Linked DNA regions of Homo sapiens: region 2 is linked to region 1. The links are contacts of gene promoters, found by promoter capture Hi-C in blood cells and fetal thymus (Javierre and others, 2016). All regions are on one chromosome and are shown on one strand. Each heading gives the region's core, a stretch centred on a gene start or on the middle of the fragment in contact. The rest is flanking DNA. Distances are from core to core; before and after follow the strand shown. Region 1 holds the start of KCNA10 (potassium voltage-gated channel subfamily A member 10). Region 2 overlaps LOC124904296 (a long non-coding RNA gene).

Region 1 (4,257 bases), core at 492-2,991:
GGAGGGCAATGGTGAGGACCCCTGCAATGGCACACAGAGTGCCCACAATCTTCCCCCCTGGGGTGGTCGGGCACATGTCCCCATAGCCTACAGTTGTCATGGTGACCACTGCCCACCAGAAGCCATCAGGAATGCTAGAGAAATGGGACTCTGGCTCATCCACCTCAGCAAAGTAGACTGCACTGGAGAAGAGGATGACTCCAATGAAGAGAAAGAAGATGAGCAACCCCAACTCCCGCATGGACGCCTTCAGTGTTTGCCCGAGGATCTGCAGCCCCTTGGAGTGGCGCGAGAGCTTGAAGATGCGGAAGACCCTCACCAGGCGGATGATCCTCAGGATGGCCAGGGACATGTTCTGTTGGGCACTCGGCTCTGTCTCCTGGACTAGCTCTGTGATGAGAGTTGCAAAGTAGGGGATAATGGAGATGATGTCAATGATGTTCATGATGTTCCTGAAGAAGTCAGTCTTGCTGGGGCAGACCACGAACCGGAGCACCAGCTCGAAGGTGAACCACACGATGCAGGTAGACTCCACCATGAAGAAAGGGTCGGTGAACATGGTCTGGGAGAGGACTGTCTTGCTCATGTTGAGATTGGGGTCTCTGACCACCTTTAGCTCCCTATCCTCCCGGAACTCTGGCAGTGTCTCCAGGCAGAAGATGGTGATGGAGATGACCACAACCAACACCGAGACCACGGCCACAGCACGGGCAGCGCTGGAACTTTCAGGGTACTCAAAGAGGAGCCAGAACTGACGGTGGATGTCATTGGTGGGTAGCAGTGTTTCAGGGTCTTTGATGAAGCCTTCATCCTCCCGGAACTGGTCCATGGCCTCACTACCCAGCTCATAGAAGGAGATTTCATCAGCAAAGATATCAATGGGAACATTGGCTGGGCGCCGAATTTTCCCACCAGATTGGTAATAATATAGGATTCCATCAAAACTGGGCCGGTTCCGATCAAAGAAATACTCATTTCTCATGGAGTCAAAGAACTGCATCCTTTTTTCCCGGTCTCCCAGGAGAGTCTCTGGGAACTGACTAAGGGTTCTGAGCTGGGTCTCAAATCTCAGCCCAGCAATGTTGATGATCACCCGCTGGTTTCCTTCATTTAGGACCACTGGCTCAGGCCCTGGGGGGTCAGCATAGTCTCCCGGAAGCTTGGAGAAGGCCGTCTCATGGTTGGTGCTTTCGCTGATGAGGATCTTCCCGTTGGAGAAGGAGCTGCCCCCAGGCCGGCCTTTTGGGCTGGTTGAGTCGAAGTCTGTGGCATAGCCTGGCTCTTCTTGGATTTCATCTGAATTATCAAAATTGACCAGCGCAACCTCCATTTCTTTCCAGCCACACACATCCATTCTAGGGGAGCCAGGGAAGAAGCATGAAGATCCTCAGCCTTCACTGCCTGCTGTGAGCTATGGAGAAGAAGAAGTTCATTATACAAGATCCAGGGCAGAATACAACTGGCCCTTGTTTATTGAGGTAAGGTACACCAATGGGCTAATCAATGACTTATTTGTAGCTTGGGAAGGAACGTCATGGTTATTTTGGCAGCATGCTTCCCTTAAAATCATTTTGTACCCCTGAGTTTGCATAAACTAATAACTAGGAGAAATTGCAAAAAAAGGATCCTGGCAAAGAAGGGGAGATTCTCCCCAGCAAAGGATGGTCTCCATATGTGATGGCAGAGGGGCCATACTAAAAGAGGAAGTTAACATTCCTTAATAATAAAAAGCATGATCTTGTATTTGCATGAAGCCTTCTGTCTCACCAAACACGTCTCCATGCCCAATCTCATTCGTAATGCCTCTCTTTCACACCAACAGCCAGTCCCTCACACATCCTTTTGGTCATGTCTTCAAAATATATCTAGAATTCAACCATTTTGCATCACTTCCACCCCTGCTTCTGGACCAAGTGGTGAAGGGTGGAACCAGATCTATGAACCCAATGGGGATTCTTTAGGGAAGGAAAAACAAGACGCTGGGTTGGCCAATCGACAATGTCCTCTAAATGACCCCTCACCTGGAAATAACTCCTAGAGTTGTTTTGAAGGTACCTCAAATGAGATAACACGTATGGAATGCTTGGTGGAAAGAAAGATCACTATATTATAGCTATTGTTTTTTGTCAACTTTCCCACATAACAAGCACTTTAGAAACTACCAGCAATTGGAATTTTTTTTGGCCTGAGTCCAAGGTGTCCATAGGAAGTAATTTCATTTTGAGAAATCATTTTAGGTGGGAAGGAAGTAAATAATTGTGTGTGTCTGTGTGTGTGTGTGTATATGTGTGTGTGTGTGTGTGTGTGTGCGCGCGCACGCTGGAGGTGGGGTTAGGAAATCATGCCCAGTGGGCTTGGACATCTATACACATAGACTAATATTTCTTTCCTCAGGTTCATTCTAGCTTCAGTTTCAATTTAAGAACACTGAACCCAGGCAGGCTGGGGGTGGGAGTGGGAGAGAAGTAAGGGACTTAACCTCAGGCAAAATCTGTAGTGGTCACAGCCTTGGAGAGGTTTCCTTTACAGGCGACAAGGCTATCCTGCAGTGTAGTGTTGTAGTCTTTTCAAAGTGATTCCACATTCACTTATCTCACTAGATGACAATAATCACGTGAGGTTAGATGTTATCTCTGTTTTGCAGATGCGGAAACCAAGTCACAGGGACAAAGTGACTTCCTAAGGTCACATAACTAGTGCTACAGAGTCCTGACCTAAACCTGGCCATGGCCTTCTGGCCCAGGGCCTTTCCCACTAGACCATGGAGTCCCTATATAGGAGCTGAGCCTTGTGGGGAGCTGTAGGCTAGGGCCACAGAATTGTCAGGGGTCCAGAGCTCTTTCCATCCCATGACCCCTTTTCTCAGTTCAGGTGCCATGTGTTGAATGATGAGCTCAAGTCTGGTTGGTCAGCACTGGTAGAGTACCCATTCTACCTCTCAGGAGTATGTGGCCATTGCAAACGGCCTAATTTCACGGAGCTGCTGCTTCCTCAGTTGTGGAATGAGGAAGGATGTACCCACTGCCAAGCATGCCAGGTGCCAGCCTGCTCTGCAAGGCTCGGTGAGCAGTAGGATGGCTGGGAGGCAGGATGGAATCTGAGAATAGAATCAGTCCACCCGAGTTCAAATCCTGGCTCTGTACATGGTAAAGCCCTGGAGAAATGTAGCTTCACAGTAATTCGCATGATGATTTGGGGGCCTTGTCCTGAACTGCTTGGCAGCTGGATGGCTGTGGGTGGGGGACTCCAGCTCTGTGTTGATCTCATGTCTTCGGAGCACCATTTTCTCCTTTGGGGTCTTGGACCGCAGATGGTGCTCCCTGATGATTATCTTCCAGGTGTGAATCAGTCCCGCTTTCTGAGAGGAATGAGTACCATCAGTGAGCTTTGGGCAAGGTTTGGGAACCACTTCCATGGTTCTAGCCAAGGCTAGAGTGACCCTTATCAGGAACTTCTCTGGAGGCCAGCAGCAGAAAGCATTTGGGGATTAGGGAGAGCTTCTTTGGCCAAATAATTAACTTCCTTTTTTGGGAGCCAGGCCATTTCCCTTCTCCCTGCCTCCTAGGTTCCTCTTTGTCACTTCCACCCCCAGGTCAAGTGACAGGTAGGAGGGTGTTTGATGAGGGTCTGATGGTGAGGAGGTGGCAGACAGTGCCAAGGTCAAACAGCATATTCCGTGGTCTACAGAAGTGTGCTGTGCAGGCGGCTCCACCTGCCCCATTAGTAGCAAATGTTAATCATTAAAACAAAGAGAAAAGAGAACCGTCTTGAGGACAAGGACCTGGTGTGAGGCTCTGCCCCACCACTTAGGAGTGTATATTTTAAAGCAAATCATTGGATTTTATGACTCAGCTTTCTAATCTATAAAATGGGTAAAAATAATAGTAATTCCCATCTCAAAGATTATACTGAGAACTAAATAAGGTAGTAACAGTGAAAGCACTTTGTAAATTGTAATTGTAAATTGTAAAATGACAAAAATCTCCCTTTACGTTTTCCTCCCCTCTGCTCCACACATAAACCCAATATAACATGCTTGTAGAAAGCATGTTTCACGTAAAGAACTGCAGGAGGAATTCTCAGCTCACTATTCTCCCCTTCTGCTCAGCCCAGTCCTGACTCCATGCCTTCATCCTTGTTTTGCTCTTGCTTCTCATATGCTTTTTACTCCCCCTCCCTTCCTCCATCATCTATTCCTCCCTGCCCATCTGGGAACTATTCAGATCCTACCTTGTCCCAGGAGCCTGCCCTGGCCAG
Region 2 (4,074 bases), core at 1,549-4,048, 240 kb after region 1:
TTGAATATAAACTTAATTTCTTCTTTTATCATACATATTTATGGCTATTAAGATTTTCTATGTCTTGTCGCAGTTTTGGTAATTTGTGTCTTTTGAGGAATTTGTCCACTTAATCTAAATTGCCAAATATACTGACATAAAGTTGTTCATCATATGGCTTTATTCTCCTTTTAATGTGTATAGTATCTACAGTGTTGTCCCCTCCTTCATTTCTGATACCAAAAATTTGTATTTTCTTTTTATTCTTGATGAGTGTCTGGATTACGACTGCTGCTTAACAAATTATCCCTAGCATTAGCAGCTTAAGACCACAAATTTAATTTACTCATGGTTTTGTGGGGCTGAAATTTGAGAAAAGCTCAGCTGAACAGTTCTCACTTGGAGCCTTTAATGTCATTGAATTCAGTTGTCAGTTGGGGCTCCAGTCATGTGAGACTCAACTAGGCAGGATGCCCAAGATGGCTTCCTTACATGGCTGGCAGCTGGTGCCTGCTGTTGGCTGGGAGCTCAGCTGGGGCTGTTGATGGAGTGTTTACATGTGGCCTCTCCAGCTTAGCAGCTGTCTTCTTCCAGAGCAAGCATCCCAAGAGAACCAGTTGGAAGTTGTTTGGCTTTTCCTAACATAGATTGAAAGTAAAACATTGCCATGTTCACCAAATTTTACTGGTTACAAGCAAGTCACCGAGGCCAGCCCAAATTAAGAGGAAGAAATATAGAGTCCATTTCTTGATGGAAAGAGCATCAAAAATTTTAAATCGCATTTTATAATCTTCACAGCAGTCTAGGTGGGGATTACCAATTTTATTCATCTTTTCTAATAATAAATGTTTGCACTGATTTTATCTGTTTGTCCATTTTTTATTTAATTGATTTCTGTCCTTATTTTTGTTACTTATTTTCTTCTACTTACTTTAGATTTAATTTGCTCTTCCTTTTCCAGCTTTTAAGATGGAAGTAAACTTAGATCACTGATTTTATGTCTTCCTTCTTCTTATGATAAAGACATTGACAACTACCAATTTCTGAAGTATTATAAATTTGTATTTTGTTGTCTGTTTGTTACATAGTCTGTACTGTAGGTTCATACAGGCAGCCAGCTTCAGGGTGCCAGCAGGCCATAGGAGTTAGAACTGACTACACTGCTCTTTTCTAGAGTATACTGGTTAAGAGCATAGACCTGAAGCCATGTTGTCTGGGTTTAATCCCACCTTGGCACTCACCAGCTACATGATCTTGTCAAATTGCTTAGCCTCTTTGTGCCTCCATTTCCTCTCAAATCATAGATTAACAGATTACTGACAGGCTGAATTCAAATCTATTAAGTAAAATAATGTGTAAAGTGGGGATGGTAATCATGATATCTACCTCAAAGGTTGTTATGAGGGTTAAAGGAGTCGGGATTTGTAAAGTGTTCAGAATACAATTTAAAAATATATTTCTCAGTACTCCTGTTATATTAAAATAGGAAGGCAAATAGGAGGCTCATTAAGCCATTCAAATGATTACTACATGAGTCAGGCAACTGTGCTGGACATCAGTCTTACCATCTAAAGTCACTCTAAAGCTCTACTGTCATTTACTTTCAACATTTTAGGATAACAGCATCATATGTTCTATAAAATTTACAGTTACTGTCTTTGTTCTTGCAACTATTGATTGTTACTAAGTCTTAAGTACCAGGCTAAGTCTATTACATATAGAATATTATTTAAACCTCACAACATATCTTCAAAGATGCCAACTTAGATGGTACCTAGAGGTGAATTAGCCATCACTGTCCCACCTCTGAGTCTCCTTAAAACAAGGACTGCTCTCTTAATCCCCACTCTAGTTTCTTGTCAAGACTAACTAGGGCAGTTTTCCAGTTGGTGCCTCTGGAAATATTGGACATCCTGATTTTTCAGCTGTCTGGAATTGATGGAAAATGTAGTTTCAAGCCAGGGAAGATAATAGAGCGTAGGGGTTAGAAGCAGAAGCTTTGCAATCGGACAGATCTGAGTTGGAGTCCTGACTCTACTCTTTACTAGCTATGTGACCTTGAGAAAGTTCTTTAACATGTAGTCAGCCAACCTTTCATTCATTCCAAAAATATTTACAAGCATCTGTGCAATTCCAGGCTCTGTTCTAGGCTCTGGGGAGACAGCTGGTAATGAAAGAGACTGCAGTCTCTGCTCACATGAGCTTTACATTCAGTGGTTTTATGACTTCTTTATAGGATTGTGGGGAGCTTAATTGGGATAACATAGGTAAAATGCTTAGTGTAGTGCCACTGGAACATATTTGAAAAGGAATAATGTCAGGGAAAATGCAGACACCTTCCTGAATTTTATATTGTTTTCAGACATCTTTTGCCTGACAATAGTGTAGAGGAGTTGCCTTCCAGAATAGCAGTGATTTTTGGAATAACTGATCTGAGGATTGTTCTTCCTTGGCCTCTTTTCAAAGGTGACCAAAAGATGGAAACATACCTAGGATCTTTTATTATAGCAATTTAAAAATATTTATGATAGCTTGTAGAATAATTTGAGAGTAAATTTCATATACGCCTCAACCAAGGAGCCAGCATTACTGGTCATTTAATTGTCCATCCTTCATTGTTTATCTCAATTCTTCAGAAAAATATTCTAGACAAGACTGAAGGTCAGCATTTCATCTTTAAGCTTATTCTAAACCTAAATATTATTGCCCTAAATCTGACTGTACATATAAGAGTAATAAAGGTATTAAGTGGATAAAGAAGATTAATATGGAATGAACCTCTCTATAATTCAAAACAGAAACTACCAATATCTGTAAATTCATACTCTATCTTCCTTCCTTTCACAGTGTACAGACATTACCTTTATCCTATAAAAAATCAGCCCCTCAGATCTTATTCCACTTCTTATCTGCATTATATCCATTTCCTTGGTCATTTGTTTCTCCCCACTAGACTATAAGCTTCTTAAGGGCAGGTGCCATGTTTCACATCTTTATGTATTTTGTTCATATCCTAATGCCTGGCATAGAGTTGGTTTTCGATGTGTGTTTATTGAATTGACTTGAAATGACATAGATTTCCTCTCAAATAATAGACTAATAGATTATTGGCAGGCTAAAATCAAATTCTTCTAACTCTTTCATCTGTTGATTTTATAAAGATTTCTAAAAACATCAAAATGATGGTAAATTTATTTTAAAACACTTTGAATGAAATTTAGCTAAATCAATCCAAAGGCTTAAGTTTAGATAGCCTCACAAAGATGTCATCTCAAACAATGAATTTATCATAGATTCCAGTGAAGAAACATTATTACAAAATCAGAAGTAGTACCTGCCTAATAATGTATATAATTCCACATTAAACGGTTTAAAATGTGCTCTTATTAACTACCACCTCTTTTTTTAGCTTATTTATTTAAACAACTTGACATAAGTATTATTAGATAATCTGATTGCACATTCTCTGGTTATAACAAACAGGAGGACAGACATTATCTTTTATTTGAGTACATATTTTTATAATTTTCAATTGGATGTGAATATATAAAGAGGCTTTAAAAGCTGCTGAAACTTTTGGTTATTTCAGGAAGATTAGTGGAGAATTAATAAGAAAGGAAAAGTTAAAATTTAATCTGGAAAACTTGGGGGCAGGTGTATGCGCTAAAGAATTGGGGGATAAGGGTCACTCAACAAATATTTATTGAGCACTTACTATGTGCGAGCCACTATCCGAGTCTTTTAGATACAGAGAACCCTGCTCTTGCAGAGCTGACATTTAAGTTGGGAGAACATTCATTCAAAGAGATTCTAGTAATAATGACTTTCAAAAGGAACCATTGGATCTCCATTTCTTAGCTTCCTGGAGCTTCTTCGCCCTGTTGAAATGTGAACAGTCCCTTTCTACCTATAAACCCCACAGATTCAGAGAAATTAAAAAGGAAAAGCATGGTCTAGCACAAAACAGGTGCTGTTATAACCTTCCCGGGGTGCAGAGCACCTACTTGTCTTGAGAGGCTACTCAAGTAACTTCCCTGAACAGAAAAATGTTTCAAGGCAATTCTCTCTGTCTATACTAGAATTGACTGGCAACAT

Evidence for each region. The method cuts DNA at HindIII sites, captures the fragments that hold promoters and counts their contacts. A CHiCAGO score of 5 or more calls a contact.
Region 2: a contact is called between a fragment that was not itself captured here and the fragment with the promoter of KCNA10 in region 1, in 4 of 17 cell types (endothelial precursors, total CD8 T cells, activated CD4 T cells and 1 more). The highest score is 5.7, in endothelial precursors.

Annotation. Positions count from the first base shown.
Region 1 is chr1:110,517,434-110,521,690 of GRCh38, forward strand. KCNA10 (potassium voltage-gated channel subfamily A member 10) reads right to left here and starts at 1,742. Exons shown (of 1, transcript NM_005549.2): 1 at 1-1,742. The coding sequence starts at 1,354. The HindIII fragment of the contact is 5,009 bases long and covers 1,158-4,257 here.
Region 2 is chr1:110,756,196-110,760,269 of GRCh38, forward strand. All of the region lies in intron 1 of LOC124904296 (a long non-coding RNA gene), which reads right to left. Among named protein-coding and RNA genes, the nearest start is that of KCNA3, 83 kb to the left of the region's middle. The HindIII fragment of the contact is 280 bases long and covers 2,659-2,938 here.